Regions from separate parts of the Homo sapiens genome. Here regions 1, 3 and 4 are each linked to region 2. Evidence: promoter capture Hi-C in 16 types of primary human blood cells and fetal thymus (Javierre and others, 2016). All regions are on one chromosome and are shown on one strand. The core of a region is centred on a gene start or on the middle of the fragment in contact, and the rest is flanking DNA. Distances in the headings are between cores, read along the strand shown.

What was found. The method cuts DNA at HindIII sites, captures the fragments that hold promoters and counts their contacts. A CHiCAGO score of 5 or more calls a contact.
Region 1: a contact is called between the fragment with the promoter of HSPA9 here and the fragment with the promoter of ANKHD1 in region 2, in 1 of 17 cell types (total B cells). The highest score is 7.1, in total B cells.
Region 3: the fragment with the promoter of DIAPH1-AS1 here is called in contact with the fragment with the promoter of ANKHD1 in region 2 in 3 of 17 cell types (neutrophils, M0 macrophages and total CD4 T cells); the score reaches 11.5 in neutrophils.
Region 4: a contact is called between the fragment with the promoter of DIAPH1 here and the fragment with the promoter of ANKHD1 in region 2, in 1 of 17 cell types (fetal thymus). The highest score is 5.9, in fetal thymus.

What each region holds. Positions count from the first base shown.
Region 1 is chr5:138,572,524-138,578,228 of GRCh38, reverse strand. HSPA9 (heat shock protein family A (Hsp70) member 9) reads left to right here and starts at 2,828. Exons shown (of 17, transcript NM_004134.7): 1 at 2,828-2,991; 2 at 4,103-4,161; 3 at 4,379-4,466. The coding sequence starts at 2,911. All of the region lies in intron 1 of LOC105379193 (a long non-coding RNA gene), which reads right to left. RefSeq lists enhancers at 2,234-2,373, 1,951-2,599, 2,514-2,793, 3,034-3,083, 2,600-3,247. The HindIII fragment of the contact is 10,827 bases long and covers 1-5,705 here.
Region 2 is chr5:140,398,023-140,403,230 of GRCh38, reverse strand. It overlaps ANKHD1 (ankyrin repeat and KH domain containing 1), which reads right to left and starts at 1,398. Exons shown (of 34, transcript NM_017747.3): 1 at 958-1,398. The coding sequence starts at 1,263. ANKHD1-EIF4EBP3 (ANKHD1-EIF4EBP3 readthrough) reads right to left here and starts at 1,398. Exons shown (of 36, transcript NM_020690.6): 1 at 958-1,398. The coding sequence starts at 1,263. ANKHD1-DT (ANKHD1 divergent transcript) reads left to right here and starts at 1,830. Exons shown (of 2, transcript NR_186045.1): 1 at 1,830-2,120. RefSeq lists enhancers at 1,195-2,084, 2,275-2,324, 2,415-2,564, 2,655-2,804. The HindIII fragment of the contact is 10,874 bases long and covers 1-5,208 here.
Region 3 is chr5:141,554,016-141,559,707 of GRCh38, reverse strand. It overlaps DIAPH1-AS1 (DIAPH1 antisense RNA 1), which reads right to left and starts at 1,397. Exons shown (of 3, transcript NR_038333.1): 1 at 1,221-1,397. The region is part of intron 18 of DIAPH1 (diaphanous related formin 1); the gene reads left to right. RefSeq lists enhancers at 1,512-1,806, 1,567-2,419. The HindIII fragment of the contact is 6,603 bases long and covers 1-3,311 here.
Region 4 is chr5:141,616,424-141,622,217 of GRCh38, reverse strand. It overlaps DIAPH1 (diaphanous related formin 1), which reads left to right and starts at 3,218. Exons shown (of 28, transcript NM_005219.5): 1 at 3,218-3,420. The coding sequence starts at 3,304. HDAC3 (histone deacetylase 3) reads left to right here. Exons shown (of 15, transcript NM_003883.4): 15 at 681-1,337. The coding sequence ends at 750. RefSeq lists silencers at 2,864-3,523, 3,584-3,633, 3,444-3,640. The HindIII fragment of the contact is 3,913 bases long and covers 437-4,349 here.

The DNA.
Region 1 (5,705 bases), core at 1,579-4,078, 1.8 Mb after region 2:
TTCTTTTCTCTCTTTCTCTTTCCTTCCTTTCCTTATTTCCTTTTCTCCTTCCTTCTTTCCCTCCTTCCCTCCCTCCTTCCTTCCTTTCTCCTTTCTTTCTGTTTTTTTGTTTTTTGTTTTTTTTAATGTCTCGCTGTGTCACCCAGACTGGAGTGAAATGGCACAATCATAATCACGACTCACTGCAGCCTCGACCTCTCTTGGCTCAGGTGATTCTTCCACCTCAGCCTCCCGAGTAGCTGGTAGCTGGGACTACAGGTGCACCACCATGCCCGGCTAATTTTTTGTAGAAATGGGGTTTTGCCATGTTGCCCAGGCTGTTCTCAAATTCCTGAACTCAAGTGATCCTCCCACTCCAGCCTCCCAAGTAGGTGGGACTACAGGTGCTTGCTACCATGCCCAGCCAATTTAAAAAAAAAAAAAAAAAAAATTGGCCGGCCGCAGTGGCTCACGCCTGTAATTCCAGCATTTGGGATGCCGAGGCGGGCGGATCCCTTGAGTTCAGGAGTTGGAGACCAGCCTGGGCAACAAGGCGAAACCCCGTCTCTACGAAAAATACAAAAATTAGCCAGGCGTAGTGCCGCATGTCTGTAATCCCAGCTACTCGGGGGAGGGGGGCGCTGAGGCGGCACTGGAATCATCTGAGCCCAGAGAGGTGGAGGCTGCAGTAAGCTGAGACTGCACCACTACACTGCAGCCTGGGCGACAGAGGCTAAAGATGGAGTCTCACTCTGTCGCTCAGGCTGATCTCGAACTCCTGGGTTCAAGTGATCCTCCCACCTCGGCCTCCCAAAGTGCTGGGATTACAGGCGTGAGCCACCGCCTGGCCACCCCTGCCTTCTGAGAGAACTAAAAACAAGAGAAATGAAGTGTTAAGTAACTAGTGAGGATAATATAGTAATAGCTGACAGTTAAGAGTGTGTGGGAGGCTTTTTAAAAACTTTTAGAATCTATATAATCTATAACCCATGTTACGTTAGACTTTTGTTTATTTTCTTACTCCCACTGCCATCCTCCTCAGAATGTAAACTCTTCAGTTAGCTTCTTTCCCTCCCCAACTTTCCCCAACATTTCCTTCACAGTTCCTCACCCAGGGGTGACTACTTAATAATACAGATCTTCCTGAAGAGATAGGGGGTCTGAAACATTTCTCTTTTTTTGAAAGCGGGCTTCCAGGACAAATTGCTTCATCTCCAAAATCAAGTTCAATCTGTCATCAGCCATTCGTTCGTGTTTTGCTTTCGCTGTATTCCTACCACCTGGGAGAGTGACTGACACACGGTAGGCATGCCAAAACATATCTGTTGAATCAATTAATTCCTCTTCTTAAAAATCTAAAACTGGGTTGGGCGCGGTGGCTCACGCCTGTAATCCCAGCACTTTGGGAGGCCGAGGCAGGCAGATCACGAGGTCAGGAGATCGAGACCATCCTGGCCAACATGGTGAAACCCGGTGTCTACCAAAAATATAAAAATTAGCTGGGCGTGGTGGCGCGCGCCTGTAATCCCATCTACTTGGGAGGCTGAGGCAGGAGAATAGCTTGAACCAGGGAGTCAGAGGTTGCAGTGAGCCGAGATGGCGCCACTGCACTCAAGCCTGGCGACAAAGACTGCCTCAAAAAAAAAAACAAAAACCTAAAAACTGGTCACAGGGTAGTGAAGTAGTTGACATCCTGCCACCAGCACAAGGTTTAAAAAGGGCCAGAGGAGTCTCAAGTCAGGCCCAGCACAGTGGGGAGAGGAAGAGCCTGAAGCTCAGCTATTTTTCTTTTTTTTCTTGAGACGGAGTCTCGCTCTGTCGCCCAGGCTGGAGTGCAGTGGCGCGATCTCGGCCCACTGCAAGCTCCGCCTCCCGGGTTCACGCCGTTCTCCTGCCTCAGCCTCCCGAGTAGCTGGGACTACAAGCGCCTGCCACCACGCCCGGCTACTTTTTCGTATTTTCAGTAGAGACGGGGTTTCACCGTGTTAGCCAGGATGGTCTCGATCTCCTAACCTCGCGATCCGCTCGCTTCGGCCTCCCAAAAGTGCTGGGATTACAGGCGTGAGCGCCCGGCCAAGCTCAGCTATTTTTTTTTCCCTTTGTGCAGGCTAATTGGCCTAATGTTCTGTGTGAATCAAACGCTTCGTAGTTGGAAACCCAAGACCCCTGTGATAAAACGCAACACGAAATTGTTTAACGTCTGTCTGCATATCCAAGTGTCTTTCAAGTTGTGAACAACGGGCGGGACCAAACAACAAAAGTACTGACGTCCTCACTTCACAAAGCCACAAGACAAGATGGCGCCGTCCTCCAGGAGCGGGAGCTGGGAACACGTCCACGCCCGGGGGGTGTGCACGCGCCCGGGCTCGCCCCAGGGAACGCTGGCGTGCACTCGGGCACCCAGTGAGCGCCGCAGTTAGTCTCCACCCATGTTTTCCGCCACTCCTTGCGCACATGCGCTCTAGGTTCTTAGCTGGATGTCTGTTGCGCCAACAGGCTCCTCCTCCCGCGCAACTGACGCAAGAAGACTGTAATCGGTTCGCAATTTATCCCGTGTGACCTTGAGTCTTTCCTGTCGCCGAGGACCGGGGCTGTCCGAGATACGGCCTTCATATCCCTCTTCCTCCCCTGGACTCTTTCTGAGCTCAGAGCCGCCGCAGCCGGGACAGGAGGGCAGGCTTTCTCCAACCATCATGCTGCGGAGCATATTACCTGTACGCCCTGGCTCCGGGAGCGGCAGTCGAGTATCCTCTGGTCAGGCGGCGCGGGCGGCGCCTCAGCGGAAGAGCGGGCCTCTGGGCCGCAGTGACCAACCCCCGCCCCTCACCCCACGTGGTTGGAGGTTTCCAGAAGCGCTGCCGCCACCGCATCGCGCAGCTCTTTGCCGTCGGAGCGCTTGTTTGCTGCCTCGTACTCCTCCATTTATCCGCCATGATAAGTGCCAGCCGAGCTGCAGCAGCCCGTCTCGTGGGCGCCGCAGCCTCCCGGGGCCCTACGGCCGCCCGCCACCAGGTGAGGAACTGGGACCTTCCCGAATGGGGTCACGGCCTCGGGCCTTGGGCCTCGGGCTTCGCTGCGGCAGGCCGCGCGCCCTTTAGGGTTTGAATTCTCCAGTATAGGTCAGGCGGGAAGGAAGGTAACGGGCCTTCCATAGTTAGCGCTGCCGGGTCAAGATTTTGCCCAAGGTTTTGCCTCCGGCTTGGGCCCTGCTGAGTCACACCCCTCGCGATCTAGAGTGTCATTTCAAAATTACCAGGTAGTGGTCCTCATGGCCTGTTCTGTGGCTGAATGGAAAGGTTTGGCCTTGGGGGTGAGGGATGCAGTCTATTGGGAAAGCCACTATTTTCAGTTTTATTTTTGGCTCCTCTACAGAATACAGAGTGTGTAAGGATCCCGTTGATACGGTGAAATAAAATAAGAAAGCTCTGAGTCGGAACTCCAGTTTTCGTGCTTAGCAACATTTTCTCAAAATCTGTGGTGTAAGATTGTACTCGTTTGTTACTTCAGAAAAAAAAGCAGATCGTGGGGCGGAGAAAAGGCTATGGAGTGGTTACTTGTTTTCTAAAATAAAAGACAAATGCTTTAGAGAACAGGAATTGTATGTGGGCATTAAGGAAGGCTTGGAAGGAGCCTGAGGTTAAGTTGTAATAAAGGTCTTTTATCCTAGTGAAACGCCACTACTTTTCTTTTTTCTTTCAAAGACCCTTAGTAACTCTAGTTCTTTTAAACTAATTGCACGGCAAGGTAAGGGGAAGTGTTTTCCCCCAGGGGACATCTGGCAATGTCTGTGGATATTTTAGGTTGTCACTTACTTACTGGGGTGCTTATTGGTTTCTAGGGTGTCGAGGCCAGGGATGCTGCTGTATATCCTACAATGCACAGAACAGCCCCCACCACAAAAATTTCGCCCAAAATTAATAGCGCCACGGTTGAGAAATCCTACTGTAATGTGATTCTAAGGCCATCTTTTATTTACCTTTTTTCGTCTTACTTATTTGGGAAACTTTAATATTTACTGTTTTAGTAGCTTAATGTATTTTATATACTAAGTGAGCCCAAGTTTTCTCTTTTTCCTCCCAGGATACACACTGGTTGGTGACTGAGTCAGTTTTTTCTTTTTTAGGATAGCTGGAATGGCCTTAGTCATGAGGCTTTTAGACTTGTTTCAAGGCGGGATTATGCGTAAGTATAATATCATTTCCTTTGAGAGGGAATACATATTAAACTTCAAAGCAGTGTTTTCTACATTTGTGATTATTCTTCTCTGTAATTATTTATCTGTATTTATTTAGAGATTATGTAGTATACCACTGTTAATTTTCCAATTAAATATTATCTTCCAGTGACTTTGGTCTATCAAGATAACAATAGCTGTGACACTGTTCTAAATGTCTTACAGATCAGAAGCAATCAAGGGAGCAGTTGTTGGTATTGATTTGGGTACTACCAACTCCTGCGTGGCAGTTATGGAAGGTAAACAAGCAAAGGTGAGCATGATTGATAACTAGTACCTTATCCAGAATCTGTCCAGAATTCTGTGCTCTTTTCCTTAGTTAAGGAATTTGAGAACCTGATTTGCGCTTTTTTTTTTTTTTTTTTTTTTTTTTTGGAGACAGTCTCTATAGCCCATGGTGGAGTGCAGTGGCACGGTCTCCGCTCACTGCAACCTCTGCCTCCTGGGTTCAAACAGTTCTCCTGCCTTGGCCACATAGCTGGGATTACAGGCATGAACCACCATTCCTGGCTAATTTTTTGTATTTTCAGTAGAGACAGTTCCACTGTGTTGGCCAGGCTGGTCTTGAGCTCAAGTGATCCGCCCACGTTGGCCTCCAAAGTGCTGGGATTACAGATGTGAACCACTAAGCCTGGCCTCGAAGTACTTCCAACTAAAACAGCAAAAACATAACTATAGATCAGGGCTGACCGGGCATAATGGCTCACGCCTGCAGTCCCAGCACTTTGGGAGGCCAAGGGGGGTGGATTACCTGAGGTCCCAAGTTCAAGACCAGCCCGGCCAAAATGGTGAAACCCCGTCTCTACTAAAAATGCAAAAAATTGGCCGGGTACAGTGGCTCACACCTGAAATCCTAGCACTTTGGGAGGCCAAGGCGGGTGGATCACAAGGTCAAGAGATCGAGACCATTCTGGCCAACATGGTGAAACCTGTCTCTACTAAAAATACAAAAATTAGCTGGGCGTAGTGGCACACACCTGTAGTCCCCGCTACTCGGGAGGCTGAGGCAGGAGAATCGCTTGAACCCAGGAGGTGGAGGTTGCAGTGAGCCAAGATCACATCACTGTACTCCAGCCTGGGTGACAGAGCGAGACTTTGTCTCAAAAAAAAAAAAAGAAGAGACTATAGATCAGGTTTTTCATACCCAATGTTGGGACAAGAATCTTTACTTCCACATGGAGAATTATATCTACTTCTAAGTTTTTTGGGGGGTTGGCCACAGATATCAGGCATATAGGAAAAATGCCAAGAAGCCCAAATTAGGGCCAAGAGAAGGAATAATCTCTTGGTGCCAAACAAGTGGGATAAGAAGACCATAGACAGTTCAGGTTATTTCAGAAGAGGAGATTGGGGGGAAAGGAAGTATGAAAGCAAAAGAGGCCATGAATGGAAGAAGCAAGAGTCAAGAATTCCAGGTGTTCTAAATCTTGCTAAGAACCCGGTGGGAATAAAGGTTGCATGTACAGAGTAAGGAGGCTTCAAAAGAAATAGC
Region 2 (5,208 bases), core at 149-2,648:
TTGGGAGGCCGAGGCGGGCGGATCACCTGAGGTCAGGAGTTCGAGACCAGCCTGACCAACATGGTGAAACCCCGTATCTAATAAAAATACAAAATTAGTCGGGCGTGGTGGCGCACGCCTGTAATCCCAGCTACTCGGGAGGCTGAGGCAGGAGAATCGCTTGAACCCGGGAGGCGGAGGTTGCAGTGAGCTGAGATCACGTGTATTCTAGCGTGGACAACAAGAGCGAAACTCCATCTCAAAAAAAAAAAAAAAAAAAAAAAAAAGAAGAGGTTTCCACAGGTTGCCCCACTTTCTCCAAGCCTAAAACCTCCGAGTTCAGCTACCCAGCTATTCCGAAGCTCAGGGATGCCCTGGAACTTCCTTTTCCTGTCTAACTTCACAAAAGGTCCCAGAAGGAGGAGTCACGTGATTTTTCAGGGTAAAAGCCGAGAGATCCCTAATACTCAAACCTGTCTCAAACTGAAGAGGGAGAATAAGAACCGTCCTTAAGCACACAGGTAAGACACACACAAGGCAGAAGGCAAATAAACGTATCCCTCAACTCTGAGGAGAGGCAAAGAAGAGAAACGATCTTTGCACCAGCTCTGTCTCTGTCTCTGTTTGTCTCTCTCAGTACCAAGGGCAGGGACTCTGGCAAGACCCCGCCCCCCACCCCCAACTCCAAAGCAGGGTGGGCGGGAGGCAGCCTGAGGAGTCCCTGTTCCCGCGCGAAGCTCAGAGACCAAAGGACTCCCTATTGTGGGTCTACGAATGGTGACGGGAACCTGTCCCGCTCGAGCTAAAGAGTAAGCCGAGGGCTCACTAGGCCCTCACCGCGGCCACCGCCGCCATGGAGCCGACCGCTGTCACAGAAGGGCTCCACCAGGGAAGCGGGAGGATGGCCCCGGCCCAGAGCCTACCCAAAGAGAATTCACGCCTCACAATGTGTGGGAGGCGAGGGTCCCGGAGCCTTACCTCGGACACTTCGTCCTCGTCACTGCCAGAGGCACCACCTCCACCCCCGGTCCTCAGCACGGCAGCCGCCAACTTGAAATCCAGCGCCGCGTCCCCTCCGCCCGTACCGCTGCCGCTGCCGCCGCCGCCGCTGCTGCCGACTCCCGACGCTGGCCCGGCCTCCCCAAAGAGCCTCACGGTGCGGATCCCCAGACCGACCCCTCCCGGCGGAGGCGGCTCCGAGGCCCCAGCTGGGGCGGATCGCGGAGCCACAGAGTCCAGGTCCTCCTCAAAGGAGGTGCCGCCGCCTCCGCTATCAGTCAGCATTGTTCGCACCCGGAGCCGGAGACGGTGCCGACCCACTCGCGGTCACCGCCGCCGCTGATCTCGGGAACGAGAAGAGCAGCAAGAGGAAGAAGCGTCTCCTTTCCCCCGTCCCAGCAGCGCCACTAACTTCTCACTGCCTAACCTGCTGCCTCCCGCCCCCTCGACTCGCCACTGGCTGCAATACCCTGGCGGCTGCAGATCATTGGCCAAAGTGACCCGTCGCTCAGGCTCTTCGTCACGCGCCGCTCGCTGGCTCGCAGCCGCCAAGCTGCGTTGACCCGCGCAGGCCTAGGCGGTTGCGAACACCCGCCTCCCACTCTTCACCAGCTGACTTCCGCTCTTTTCCTATGTCTATTGGCCAACCCGCCTGACTATCGCGTCACGACCTTAAAGTGGATTAGTTGGCCTTGTGGTCAGTCATAGTGACCCCGAACAATGGGAGAATTCATTGGCGCCATAAAGTGTCGGTCACTTTGTCGCGGGACGTCGCGTGGTACAATTGGCCTGTGGGAGTACCATTGATCCCGCCCTCATCTGAGGTGACGGGAAAGGGCCGGGAAATTTCCACTTCTGAATAAAATGACTGCTGAAGTGATGACCCGCAAGAATTGGTCAAATTTGGAGTAGACTTCACCCTGCGCTTGGTGAAACTTCTACGTCAAGGATGCAAGAGGCGCCGAAGTAACGCAGCTCCCACCTGTCGCTCTCCGCTGGGCGCCGAGACTATGGCCGGAGAATAGCTGCACCGGGATTGGAGAAAGGAAGCCATCAGTCTTAGGAAGGCTCCACCTTCCTGCCATTGCCTGGTTGGAGGAGCGTAGCGTCAGTCACTAGAGCAGTCACCACCTCTGGGACAGGTGAAGATGTGTAACCTATTTGCCGGGGGCTATTTGGGAGGGAATAGAGGACGGGGAGCGATGAGGGGACAGTCGAGGGGCAAGGCCGATCTCGCTTCGCGCCTCCCGCCTTTCTGAGTTGAGCCTAGCGCGCGGGTCTGAGGGACATCCGGGGAGCTGCTTGGGATGGCCGCCTTGGGGAGACTCGACCCGCCCGCCAGGACCCGGCCGCGCGCCGCAGTTCGGGCGCCTTCGGGCAGGATCGCCCAGCGGGGCCGCGTTCTCCTGCTTGCGGACGGCTGCGGGCCTGAGGGCTGGACAGCGCCATGCCTCAGTACCGGGAACTGTCCCACGTAGGAAGGTGGGAATGCCGCGAACGGCGTGCGGAATCCGACCTCAAGGTGGAACGGGGTGGTGAAGAGTGCATGCTCCGAGGCAGTTTCGAGTTCTGGTGCTGCCACTTACTTGCTGCCTGACTTCGGCGCGTTTGCTGTTTCATTTTTGTGACTTTCAACTCGCTCCTCTGTGAAATGGGAGTAATATTAGTACCTTCCTCATTGGGTTGTTGTTATGAATAAATTAGATGATAATATAGCGCTTAGCAAAGTCCCAAACTTACAGGAAAGACTCATTTTTGCTAGTTATTGTCTCCTCTTCCTTCAGGAACTCTCTGCTCGCCCCTGGGTCCTGCCAGCCCAACTAATTCTAGTTCTAATCAGATCTGTGTGGTGCAAAACAAGGCTAGCTGTGGTGGTCTTCCCTCCTCTAAGGAGATCTCTTCCTCCCTATATGCATCTCTCTATCTCTGTCTTTATCTTGTCAGTAAAGAGGGGGGTTAAAAATATTCAGATTCTATAGCGGGCGCCGTGGCTCACGCCTGTAATCCCAACACTATGGGATGTTGAGGCGGGCGGATCATTTGAACCCAGTAGTTCGAGCCCAGCCTAGGCAACATGGTGAAATCCCGTCTTTACCAAAAATACAAAAATTGGGCTCGGCGCGGTGACTCACGCCTGTTAATCCCAGCACTTTGGGAGGCCTAGGTGGGCGGATCATTTGAGGTTAGGAGTTCTAGACCAGCCTGGCCAACATGGCGAAACCCCGTCTATACTAAAAATACAAAAATTAGCCAGATGTGATGGTGCGTGCCTGTAATCCCAGCTACTCGGGAGGCTGAGGCAGGAGAATCACTTGAACCCAGGAGGCGAAGTTTGCAGTGAGCCAAGATCGTGCCACTGCACTCCAGGTTAGGCGACAGAGCAACACATCGTCTCAAAAAAAAAAAAAAAATTAGCCGAGCATGGTGGTGCATGCCTGTAATTCCAGCTACTCAGGAGGCTGAGGTGGGAGGGATCCCCTGAGCCTGGGAGATGGAGGTTGCAGTGAGCCGAGATCGTGCCACTGAACTCCAGCCTGAGCAACAGAGCGGTGCCCTGTCTAAAAAAATTAAAAAAATAAAAAAAAAACGGTTTCTATCTAATCCTTTAATCAGACATGACCAAAAAAGGAGTCTGGTGGTTTGTATGGAAAATATCCTTTGACCCAGAGAATGTCCATATGATAACAGAATTTGGCTGAAAAAAAAAAAAATGGCCGGGCGCAGTGGCTCACACCTGTAATCCCAGCACCTTGGGAGGCAGAGGTGAGCGGATCACGAGGTCAGGAGATGGAGACCATCCTGGCCAACATGGTGAAACCCCGTCTCTACTAAAAATACAAAAATTAGCCAAGTGTGGCGGCGCGTGCCTGTAATCCCAGCTACTCGGGTGGCTGAGGCAAGAGAATCGCTTGAACCCAGGAGGCGGAGGTTGCAGTGAGCCGAGATCGCACCACTGCACTGCAGCCTGGCGACAGAGCAAGACTCAGTCTCAAAAAAAAAAAAAAAAAGTCATTTTCTCCTCTCTTACAACTTTAACAAAGGCCTTTATATATCTCAACTGTGCAATATTTAATATTTCGTCATCCTTAAACTGGGATCTTAAAATTTTATAAGAATATAATGATTTTTAAAATAACTTTAAAAGTTGATTCTGCCAAACATTTATTTAAAAAACATTTTGAATATCATAAACATTTCTTTGGCTTAGTAATTGCTCATTTTGACATTTCACATGTAAAGGATAGTGTTTTCTATGAGCAGAACATGTTTGTTAAATGTTCTTTCTAGATAATAAATAAGTTGTAGAAAATGTTAAAAAAAAGTCTTGTACCTATTCTAGAGAACTATTTTAATGTAAATGCTATGTACACTGGCTTTAGTTAGCATTTGTGGAACTTAATTAGCCTATATCCTCAGTGCTGTTAAGTTTTCAAGGCATGTGTGACTAAGTCACAACCCAAACTAATAACACCAACAAAAGAAACCTGGCACTGCCCAACCCACTTCAAAGCTGGATTATCCAGAATTGGTATGGATACATCCTTAGGCAAAAACAGGTATTGACTGGTACAGCATTACAAAGGAACTAGTTGTCATGCTTACTACTGATACAAAAATAATTTCTGATGCAACTCCCTGAACAAACTCATTAAATTCTTTAAACAAATACAATGACTCTCAAGGACACAGGGAAAGGAAATCTGGATATATATACATTTTTCTCAATTTATTTGAGAGGGAAGAAAACACTCTCTTTACTCAGTGCCTAGCAACTAACCCTGAGTATAGCTAAAGAAATGTGATTGAGCAATAATCTTTGTTTCACCAGGACCTTTACTTGAGATACTTGTCAGTAGTTTGACAGTCAGTATGGGAATTAGGAACTCCTAGTCTCCTATATTTTGGTGACTGCTATATAGAATCTCTATTAAATGTGATTTAATGGCTGGGCATGGTGGCTCACGCCTGTAATCCCAGTACTTTGGGAGGCCAAGGTGGGTGGATCACCCGAGGTCAGGAGTTCCAGACCAGCCTGGCCAACATGATGAAACCCCGTCTCTACTAAAAATACAAAAAATTAGCCAGGCGTGGTGGTGGGCGCCTATAATCCCAGCTACTCAGGAGGCTGAGGCGGGAGAATTGCTTGCACCTGGGAGGCAGAGGTTTCAGTGAGCCAAGATCACACCACGGCACTTCAGCCTGGGCAACATGAGTGAAACTTTGTCTCGA
Region 3 (5,692 bases), core at 148-2,647, 1.2 Mb before region 2:
GAAGCAGACCTCTTTTTAGCACTCCCTAATTGAGTCACCATCCTGGGTGTGCTGGGAAAGTATCTGTGGGAAACTCAATGACTATATTATCTGAAAGACCAAATGCTTGGTGAAGTGCCCAGATTTTTAATACTGCTTTTCTGCTACCCTTCCAGACTTATATCTGTCCCCTTCTTTATAACTCTCAGCATCTGGTTCTTCCTTTGGGATTCTGTGTGGCTTTGTTCTTGTCCTTTAGGTTTGTTCATTAATGCCAGTTTGCCCTGTCCCTCCTTACAGCTTGCACATCTGTAATGGTCTAGTTCTGTGGGATTTTGCAGATAGTTGTATATTTTGGCCAAGGTATCAGTGATACGGTTACCTTTGGGCAGGGATAACTGCTATTCGGTTGGCATGATATTTTTTCCTTCTATAATGTATACCTTAGTGATTGTTTTAAAGTGCTGAATTTATCCCTTATGTATATTACAACCATGAAGAATATAAATCAGAAGTCCTCCATTTGGGCAGCTTCTTATATTAACACTTATATTAACATTAAGACCCTCTTACTGTCTCCTCTTCCCAGAATTAGAGAGTTGATGTAGTGCTTAATAGACATGGCTTATTGTATGCTAGGTGAACTTGGCAATTCCATAGCTATGTTACCCTCACAGAAAGTTATTTCCTGGAGAGATTATTAAGTGTTCTGATCTTTCATATATGCCTGAGAGATCTAAGATTCTTCCACAAAGACCCTATTTCTTCAGAGAAAACTATAGTGATGCCAGAGTCTTTTTTTTTTTTTTTTTAACAACTTGTGATTTTTGTGCACCTGTGTTGTATGTGTTGCCATTATCTCACTTTAGGGACGTTGGATAAACTGGCGTATTTGTGCAGCCTCATTTAAGTAGTGGCAACCATTAATGACTTGTACCCACAAGTTTTTCCAGATAATTTCTGTTTTTTCCACCTTTCTTACATGTTCTTTTTTAGTCATAGGTACTTGGCTTACTCAAGGGAGGTGTAGCGTAAGATAAAGATAATGGAGGGTGTTCCCTGTAGAATAGGTACAAATGCTGCAGGCTTTATCTTGGGCAGAGCAAGTAGGGTTTTGGTCCTGAGTAAGTGAGTGAGGTTAGGTGGAGCTGCCTGTCTTCCAGCCGTGCGGATACAACTGACTCAGTCCGTGTTCTCAACAGTTTTTGAAAAGCCCATTTTTCTATCCCACTTACTCCCACCTGCAGTTCTTTAAGAACGTAGTTTCCAGGATGTCAGGCAACTCCCCACTCCTCCATTTCCTGTTTGTGGTCTTCATTGAGAGACGCCTTAAACAGGAATTCCTGGGGAAGTGCAGGCTATAGCGGTGGGATTCCGGGGGTCATTAGTCCATTATTGAAGCTGGGGAATCATGTACTATAAAAGGACCTCCCTTCCGTTCTGTTGTCTCCTAGAAACTATTACTGATCATAACCAAGCAGTAACTGCAACTCAGGGCTGTTGACTTGTGCCCTTTGTCTTTAGAGACTGAAAATTATTTTCCCTTCTTGTGCCTCAGTTTCTATTAGTTGAATTTTAGAGCTCAACATCAAGATTTGTGACAAAATTAACTTGGACTCTGTAGGACTGATTCGTTTGAAATGCAAAAGTAGTGAAGAACATAAAACAGACTCCCTATCTTGGCCGCCAGGGGGTGCCCTTTCCCTTCGCTTTACTGTCTGGCACTCCCCACCGCATTCAGCCATTTTAGACAGATTGTTTTTGCTCCCAGCTAACTCCATTTTGTATTTGTGACGCAGGAATAAAAAAAGGAGTTAGGCAAAGGAGGAGTCTGGTTTGCAGAGGGAGGGAGACTGGCTGAGGCGCAGCTACGTACTCTTTTACTCAGCAGTTGCTCATCAGGGACACACCTTGCTGCAGGCTGCCTGCATCCTGAGCAATCGATGCCGCAAGTCCTTGCCAGCGGAGCACAGAGCAAAATGGTTTGGCTGCCGGACACCTACTAACAGTGACAGAGTGCTAGCTTTTGAGGCAGCAGGCCAGGGCATCCCCTCTGCCTCATCTAGACTCTAATCCTGGGTTTAGGTGTTTTTGCTACAGAGATGTTTAGGGCAGTTTTCTTAATTATAGGATCAGATAAGAAAAGATACCCCCAAAAAAAGAAGAAAAAAAGGAACCCCTTTCACTTAGCTGTCTGGGAAGAATCAAATGCCCCAAGGACTCTAGGGAAATGGTCCTGAATTTTTTTAAAAAATGTTATTTTTGAAACCGTGAAAAAAATGCACGCACACATACACACATATATGTAAAGAGACTAGTATGAACACCCCTATGTCCATCACCCATTTAAAAAACTTAATCAACAGCTAGTCTTGTTTCATATACCTGTATCAACTTTGTCTTTGCCACCCATTATTTTTACATGTATCCTTGTTCATATTATTTAATCCTTAAGCAGTTCAGAATGTGTGTCAAAAAAATTAGGACTTTTAAAAGAAGATAATTACTACCATTATCACATTTAAAAAATTCTTTATCATCAGATAGCCAGTTAGTATTAAATTTCCCAAATTATCTTATGATAGTTGTTTTTTTTAATAGTTCATTTGAATCAGAGCCAAATAAAGTCTACACATTGCAGTTGGTTGATGTCTCTATAGGTTCTCTCTTATGCTCTTTTTTATTTTTTATTTTGCAATTTATTTATAGACTTAATTTCTTTTAAAAAGATCTCTGCCAGGCGCGGTGACTCACGCCTGTAATCCCAGCACTTTGGGAGGCCGAGGCGGGCGGATCACGTGAGGTTGGGAGTTTGAGACCAGCCTGGCCAATATGGCGAAACCTCGTCTCTACTAAAAATACAAAAATTAGCCGGGCCGCCTGGTGGCGCATGCCTGTAATTCCAGCTACTCGGGAGGCTGAGGCAGGAGAATTGCTTGAACCCGGGAGGCGGAGGTTGTGGTGAGCCAAGATTGCACCACTGCACTCAAGCCTGGGTGACAGAGTGAGACTCCATTTCAAAAAATAAATAAATAAATAAATAAAAAGAAGATCTCTCAGGTTGGGACTGAGAAGATACAAAGCCAGACTTCCCTTCTTGCCAGAGCAGAGCCTCTTCTTTAGGATTTCCCACAGAGGCTATTGGTGACCAAGTGAAGGAGCAATGCCCTGCCACCTTCAGAGGGAGAAAGGGCTGGACTCTTACTTTTCTCCTGACGTGATAATCTGTTACCCAAAGTCTTGAGAAAAGTTTGCACACTGCCGTCAACGGAGAACATGGTCATAGAAGTGGGCCTCACCCGTTCTAAGAATTAAAGGAGAGCTTTTAAGCTTTGGGACAACTGTGTTTGGCCACTGTGTAATAGCTGCATCCCTATGGTGATTCTAGAGTATCAGCTTTTTTTTTCCCGAATACTTTTTTTACTTAAGTAGCAGCTTTCTCCCTGGTAAGACTCAATGAATTAACAGCACTTCATGGACTTTTACAGAAAGAAAAAATATAATACTGTGTTGGGGCCGGGGGGGATGTGGTGAAAAGTCCTTTATGGCTTCAGGATTATAATATCGCTAGTCCTTCCCTTGACCTTTTTGGAGATACTCCCTGAGACTGACTTAGATGCAAATGATCAGATGAAAGTTCTTGCTTAATATTCTTCTCCCACTTCTGAAATGGGTCAGTGACTCTGACTTTCAGCAGCCACAGCAAGCAGTCTATTCCCTTGCCCAAGGGAAGGGCACAGGTGATAGAAGGGAATTAGCAGGGTCTGGCTTCTTGGCAAGGCTGGCAGGACACTCGTAGAGTCTGGTCTGTGGAGACTAGATTGGCCCCATGTCTAGTTTGGAAACTATAGTTCCCACTAGCAAAAGGTTTAGAATCTGCTGAATAGGTCAGGATTGCAGCAGCTAGAAATACGGATCCTGGCACGGCCACTTTTTAACCACATAGCTAGGTGTAAGGGTCTCTCTTTTCTACTATTGTTTGTTGAGAGTCACAGCCTTTGCAGAAAAAATTTTCCTCTTTTCCTTTGTGCTAAGGTGCTATCTATACCCACCTATTTTGGTCCCTTATTTCACACAATTCTGTAAACTGAAATTACTCAGCCCTTGATGTTGTTTTTAGGGTGAGGGACAGCATGAGGCCTTTGTTCTGGACTTCTCATCTTTGCTCTTATGAAAATGGGGGCTGGAACCCAAGCATTGATAAGGTTGTATATTAGGTGCTTTAGTATCTGGATGATTAATTAGTGCACCATTCCTGTAAGAAGGCTGGGAAGGCAGCAAATGGGAGCATTCTATGGGTTCTACATTTGACTGCCTGTCTTTACTGCTGGTTGTCAGTGGGAGTTCTTCCTAACCCACCGTCAAAGTTGAACCAGGCCTACCTGTCTAAGGATATGAAAATAAAATAGGTGGTGCCCAGAGCCATATCTGTCTTACCTTTCTCACAGTTTCCTGTTTGGTGACAGTTTTTAAAATTTACACATAGTTACATTATCACACTATGTTAACAAATCAAACTGTTTTAATTTGTTCATATTCACTTGTAGTCTTTGCCTGTGCTGTATATATAGCATTTACATGGTTGTAATCAGAGGGGGACGTGTGTGTGTATCTTAGTTCTTCTTTATTTCAGGTCGAAGTGTACAACTCATTATGCAGCATTAAATTTCAAAAAATTTAAAAGGAAATTTACATTCATGTAATCAGGGTCTGAGACCAAGATGCCCTTTGTTATGTACCCCCCTTCCAGTTACAACTGAACCTCCACCCCCAACTCAGAGTACCCACCATCCTGAAGGGTTTTGCCTGTAGCTTTTGGTATATATACACATTGTCAAAGAAGTTTCTTCGATTTCTAATATGCTAAGACTATTTATTCTGAATGGATATTAAATTTGGTCAGGTTTTTTTTTGTATTGTTGAGATGATCATATAATTTTCTACTTTAATCTGTAATTGTGGGAAGCATATTAACTGATTTCTGTTACACCGATTTTGCATTCCTAAAACAAATCTAACTTGAATGTGATCTGTTATTATTTTTATTTTATACCCCTTAATTCACTTTGCTATTAGGAATTTTGTGCCTGTGTTTATGAGTGAAAGTACCTATGATTTTTTTGATACTGTTCTTTCACATTTTGATAGTGAAGTTATGCTAGCCTCACAACATGAGTTGAGAAAATATACTTCTATTCTGTGGAAAAATTTTTTGCGTAAAATTGGTGGAATTATTTATTCCTTGAGTGTTTGAAATAATAGCTGGTAAAGTCATCTGGGTCTCTGAAGAAATTTTTGATCACCGATTTAGTTCTTTTATGGTTATAGGACTGGTTTTTTCTTATTGGATAAGTTTTGATGTGTTATGTTTTTCTAGAAATTTATCAATTTTATCTAAATTTGCAGACATATTTTGTATGATATTATTCCTTTTTTTGGGGGGAGCGGGTGGGGATGGAGTTTTGCTCTTGTTGCCCAGGCTGGAGTGCGGTGGCACAATCTCGGCTCACTGCAACCTCTGCCTCTCAGGTTCAAGCGATTCTCCTGCCTCAGCCTCCCGAGTAGCTGGGATTACAAGCATGCACTACCATGCCTGGCTAATTTTGTATTTTGGTAGAGATGGGGTTTCACCATGTTGGTGAGGCTGATCTCAAACTCTTGGCTTCAGGTGATCTGCCCGCCTCAGCCTCCCAAAGTACTGGGATTACAGGCA
Region 4 (5,794 bases), core at 1,969-4,468, 1.2 Mb before region 2:
CTCTTCTTAAAATTAAAACTCTCCTTTACCTTGCACTTAGAAGAAAATCCAAAATTTTGACTGTGGCTTAAAAAGGTCCTGCATGCTAGCCCTTACCTACATCCAGGATCTCATCTCTAACTACTCTCCTCCATGCACAGTGCTCCCGGCTGTCCTGGCCTCCTTGTTCTTACTGGAATACATCAGTCTCTTTCCATTTCATGACCTCTGTAGTTGGTTTTCTTGCAGCTTGGAATGGCCTTCCTGAAGTCTTTGCCTGCTTAGCTCCTCCTCAGACTTTAGGTCTTATGTCCCAATAGTCCTGTCTGAAATTTCACCCTTTTCCTCTCATCACCTTCAGTCCTATCACTTCATTTTATTAATTGTACTCTCCATCATCTGAAATTATTATATTTATTTACTTTGTTAGTTACTAGTCTCATTTATTAGGTAAGCTTTTTGAGGATAGACAACCTTGTCCAGCTTGTTACTCTACTGTATTGCTAAGGTTTATGACAGTGTCTGTATAGAGTAGTTCCTTAATGTTTATTTGATACGTGAATGGGTGAATGAATAGCAGTCTCTACCAACAAGAGGAGGAGTGGTTCTCAACGGGGCCTGAGAAATGGCTTTGGAAAAGGGTGCTGGGAGAAGATTAGAACTTAGAGTGAGATCCTGACCTCTCTCCCCTTGCTTTGCAGGCCAGAGGCACCCAATGAGTTCTATGATGGAGACCATGACAATGACAAGGAAAGCGATGTGGAGATTTAAGAGTGGCTTGGGATGCTGTGTCCCAAGGAATTTCTTTTCACCTCTTGGTTGGGCTGGAGGGAAAAGGAGTGGCTCCTAGAGTCCTGGGGGTCACCCCAGGGCTTTTGCTGACTCTGGGAAAGAGTCTGGAGACCACATTTGGTTCTCGAACCATCTACCTGCTTTTCCTCTCTCTCCCAAGGCCTGACAATGGTACCTATTAGGGATGAGATACAGACAAGGATAGCTATCTGGGACATTATTGGCAGTGGGCCCTGGAGGCCAGTCCCTAGCCCCCCTTGCCCCTTATTTCTTCCCTGCTTCCCTCGAACCCAGAGATTTTTGAGGGATGAACGGGTAGACAAGGACTGAGATTGCCTCTGACTTCCTCCTCCCCTGGGTTCTGACTTCTTCCTCCCCTTGCTTCCAGGGAAGATGAAGAGAGAGAGATTTGGAAGGGGCTCTGGCTCCCTAACACCTGAATCCCAGATGATGGGAAGTATGTTTTCAAGTGTGGGGAGGATATGAAAATGTTCTGTTCTCACTTTTGGCTTTATGTCCATTTTACCACTGTTTTTATCCAATAAACTAAGTCGGTATTTTTTGTACCTTTCGCCTTTCTAGGAATGTTAATTCTTGCTAGTTTCCTATTTATGAAAGGAGAGGGAAATGGGCATGATGATGCATGTAATAAAAGCATAGTTAACATTCATTCAGCACTTATCCTACGTTAGGCCCTGTGTATGTATTCTACATTTATTATTGTAAATATAAGAAGTTAATAGAGGATTTTGGTTAAGAGTTAGACAAACCTGGGCAGATTTGAGAGGAGTAGAAGATGACTTCAGGTTTTTGAATCTGGGTGTTTAGAGTAGTGATGCTAGTTGGTGAAGATACACTGAGATAAAACATGTTAAGTGCTTAGCACAGTGCCTGACAGAAGAAGTTGCCCATTATCTGTCTATGTGAAGAACAATGCTAAATACTGTAGTAGCCACAAACATGAACCTTTCTCTAGAAGAGTTTACATTCCAGTCAGTAGTATGATAAATATTGTAGCAGATACAGACTGATACAAGAAAGAGGACTGATAGATGGGTCACTTCCTCCCCTCCATTCTCTGATTCTGTCTGTTCTCAACACTAGCTTAGAAAGTAGCTTTTGGACTTTTTAGACAAAATGTCTGGAAAGCTCAGCACTAAGTCAAGTTTGAAGTATGGGATGGACAGCTCTATGTAACATTCTATCCGATCACCATCAGAAGGTCTGGACCACAAGAGAGATGAATGCCAAATTTAGGAGCCAGCCAGCTTGGCAGAGTCCCTGGTATATCTCAGGCCCTTGACTAGGTACTGGGGCTCTAGAGTAAGTAAGTCACTGACTCTGCCCTTCAGGAACTTATGCTTGAAATCTTGCTAGCTGTGGTCAAGAATATTCAGTCCATATTGTGAAGGCCGACTGGTAGCCACGTAACTGTCACACAAGGGACAGATGTAGCTGGGAGAATGGATGAAATTGCTTAGGGAGAAAGTCATGCTAGAAGAGCAAAGAATATACTCTTGGAGAATACTCATTCTTTTCACTCATGTTTGGTTTATGTCAGTGGGGAATCCTGGTTAAACATAGGGTTTGGCAGCAAATCAGACTAAGCTGGGTTTAAATTTTATATCAATTATGCGTTCTTGGGCAAGTCACTTCAACTCTCAAAAGTCCAAATTTACTATTTATAAAATGGTGAGGCTAGCAGAATCTATCACATGGGACTGTGGGGACTTAGAAAAATACATGTAGAGTGTTTGCCTAGTGCCTAGCAGAGAGCAAAGGGCATGGTTAAGTGGTAACTGTTATTGCTGTTTAGGCACATGTTGGCAATAATTAGTTTGTCCTGATTAGAAACAATTAGATGGTACCTAACCTGGAATTCGAACTAGGAAATTAAACTCCAGAGCGAGTCTGGTTTAGTCTAGTGCTTGCCCTGGACCGAGCTCTGTTCTTGCTACCTTGCTTTCAAAACATGGTGGCTATCACTATAATTTTTTTCATGTGTTCCATGGGTATTGCACACATTGAAAACTGCATTCTCTTGGAAAACCTGTCACTAATTTTCTGCCAGGATAATGGTCTCACGCGATTTTTGGTCTGGGATGTGAGAGGGTCCAGGCTGTCAGGCTGTACAGCCACGTGGGCGCTGCGTGGGAGCCAGAGGCCTGCGCTGCTCCAACCGCCAGGGGGCGGTGCTCTCCGCCGCGGCCGCGGAGAGCTGCACCGCCCACTCACCACCCCCCCCCACGTGGGTCCGAATGGTTAGGTCCGCTGGGCAGGTAGCGCGCTTCCGCGGCTTCCCTCCGCCCCTCTCCCTTCCCCCATTGGTAGGGGCTGCGGGTCCGGGCGGAAGTGGGGCAGGCGGGCGGGAGCGAGGCGTCGTCGTTGTATATTCATGAGGCGCGCGCAGCCCGGCATGCTAATGAGGCGGGGCGCGGCGGCTGGCTAAAGAGCGACTGGGCGGCGGCGGGCGCGGAGCTGCCAGGCGGGAGCGGCGTAGGCGCGGGGTCGCCGGCCAGCGTGAACCGGGACATGGAGCCGCCCGGCGGGAGCCTGGGGCCCGGCCGCGGGACCCGGGACAAGAAGAAGGGCCGGAGCCCAGATGAGCTGCCCTCGGCGGGCGGCGACGGCGGCAAATCTAAGAAATTTGTGAGTGTCCCTCCCATCCCGCTCCTGCCTGGCCCCGTAACCGCCCTCTGGACCCCTGCAGCCGGCCCCTGGGGCGCCTGCCCGGCTTTGGGGAGCCGCCCCCGCGCCTTCCTTCCTCGTTTCGCTCGGTCCGCAGCTCTGCAGCCCGACATCCTCTCCCTTCGGGACCTCGGGAAGCCCCGGAATCCCACCCGGCTCTTGCCCCGGCCACCTCGGGGCTTCCCTCGTTCCCCAGCCCTTACATTCTGCCCTCCCGCCCGCATATCCCCGGCCGGCTCTCAGCCCCGTCTCTCCCCTCTCAGCCTCACTTCCTTTCTTCTTCCTCCAGTACCCGAACACGCCTCCTCTTTTTTGGTCCCCTCTTCTGGGTCCATTTTCTCTTCTTAACCTTACACCTTTTTTGGTATTCTCGTATTTCCTTCTCCTAAAGGTCACTTCCTTCTCCATGATTCATCCTTTTTACCTGCTAACTTTCCTCCCGCCCAGTCCCCCGTGGGCCCTCCGCCCGGTGTCACTTGATAATCCTTCCCCTGAGGAATGTTACCTGACTTGAGCCCTACCCCCAACTCCTTCTTTGGACGTTTGTCCTTGCGATTACAGGAATGGGCTCCTGCCCAGGTCCTATGGTCACTGGGGCATGACGTTTATTTGTTTACCAGTATTCCTCTCTCCAGAGAACCTCTCTCTTTGCCCTGTTGCTTATCACTTTTCAGAGGATTAGAACTCTCATGATTGTGCCCTTCTTGACCTAGGATGGTGATAAACCTCTCCTGTGGGAAGAAAGTTGGACTGCGAGTTCAAGAAGTTTGTAATTGAATTGTTTTTTATACATTTCCCATGATAACCGTCTCCTCTACTCCTTTTCTACTGCCTCTTGTGCCCCAAGGCGACTATCGGCTTCCCTTTGCGTGCCTGTAGAAGAGTAAGCTTTCCTCAAGTGCCAGTTACTTTCAATCCGAGTGAAGGAATAGTGATATACATGTAACCCTATCATATTTCATTACCTTTTGCCCACACCAACGCCTCTCTCCAGGGAGCCGTTTGGTTGCTTTTTTGCTATAAAAGCTTTGTAAGATACGGGGCACTGTCCAGGAGAGGAAAAGTCTTGGATATTGATGATCATTATAATAGCTAGTTATAACTGTAGCTCTTTTGTCTTCTCTTCCAGGTATTTATGCCCTTACACTAGTGTATCTTTCTACTAAACAAATGGCTTGTAACTCTTAGTCCCACCTCCCAACATTTTGACCCAGCTCCACAAATTTGGGAAGAAAACTGATAAAGCGATGGAAACAGGAAGAAAATGTTGTTTTATGACCTAGAGGGTTGAGATGTTAACCCTGGAGGGTTAGATGTTTAATTCTAAATAGAATTAAAATAGTGACTCATCTCTTCCTATTTCTAGCAAGACCAAGTGCTCCTGGACTGCCCTTTCCAGTGATATCTGAGATGTCAGTAACCATCTGTTTTTATCTGGTGAACATCTTTTTTTCCCCCCCTAGAAATATAAGGTTAAGGGTATTGACACCCCCTCCTTCTTTGGTGACTAAAGCAGCATTTTTGTATGTTTCTTTAGGATAAGAATTGACCCCTCCCCCCCGTTAGCTTTCCTTCCAAAACTTAAGTTCTAGGGCTCATATTCCTTCTATTTCTGTATCTTTTTGTTTTGATTTTATTTCCATGAGTACTGTTTGACCTTCCTCACCCAAATTCCAGCTATTGCTGCTGACTTGTGGTGACCTCAGTGACTTGTTTTCATGTCTTGAGTAGAATTTTATATGTACTCTATTTTATCTAACAATTATTTCACGAACTTGTGAAGTCTACTATGTGTGTGGTACTGTAAGGTGAGAAACCTGAGGAAGCTCAACCCCTTTTCACCTGTCTTTTGGAATGTCCATGAAGTCTTCTATATGTTTAATGGATTTGGCTCAGGGTTGTAGGTATTTGCTTTAGAGAGGATGGAGCTGAACCAAGTTCTCTTTTCTTTCTGCGGTGTTAGTCTTAACCCTTAATCTGCTGAATTTTTAAAACTAAATAGCTCAGGTAATGAGGAAAATTGCATTAGTAGCTACGGAATTGGAAGGTTTCTAGGAAAGTAGTGCTGCTTAACCCTTTTATTGCCAAATGTAACCTATCTCAAGGCATCAGAATATTCTTTCTTCCTCTTGCTCCTTTTATGAGAACTCTGTGGAAATGAGAGATGAGGAGGAGCATTGCAATCCACTTCTCTTTGTGTCTGTGTATGTATACGTGGGTGGGTGGAGTGGGCGAGATTGCTGGTGTGCTTTTGATACCCGTGGCTTAGTTTTCTTGAACTATAGGCTAAAACTGAACTCAAAGGTCTTTCGCCGCCTCCACCTTTTCTAGAGTA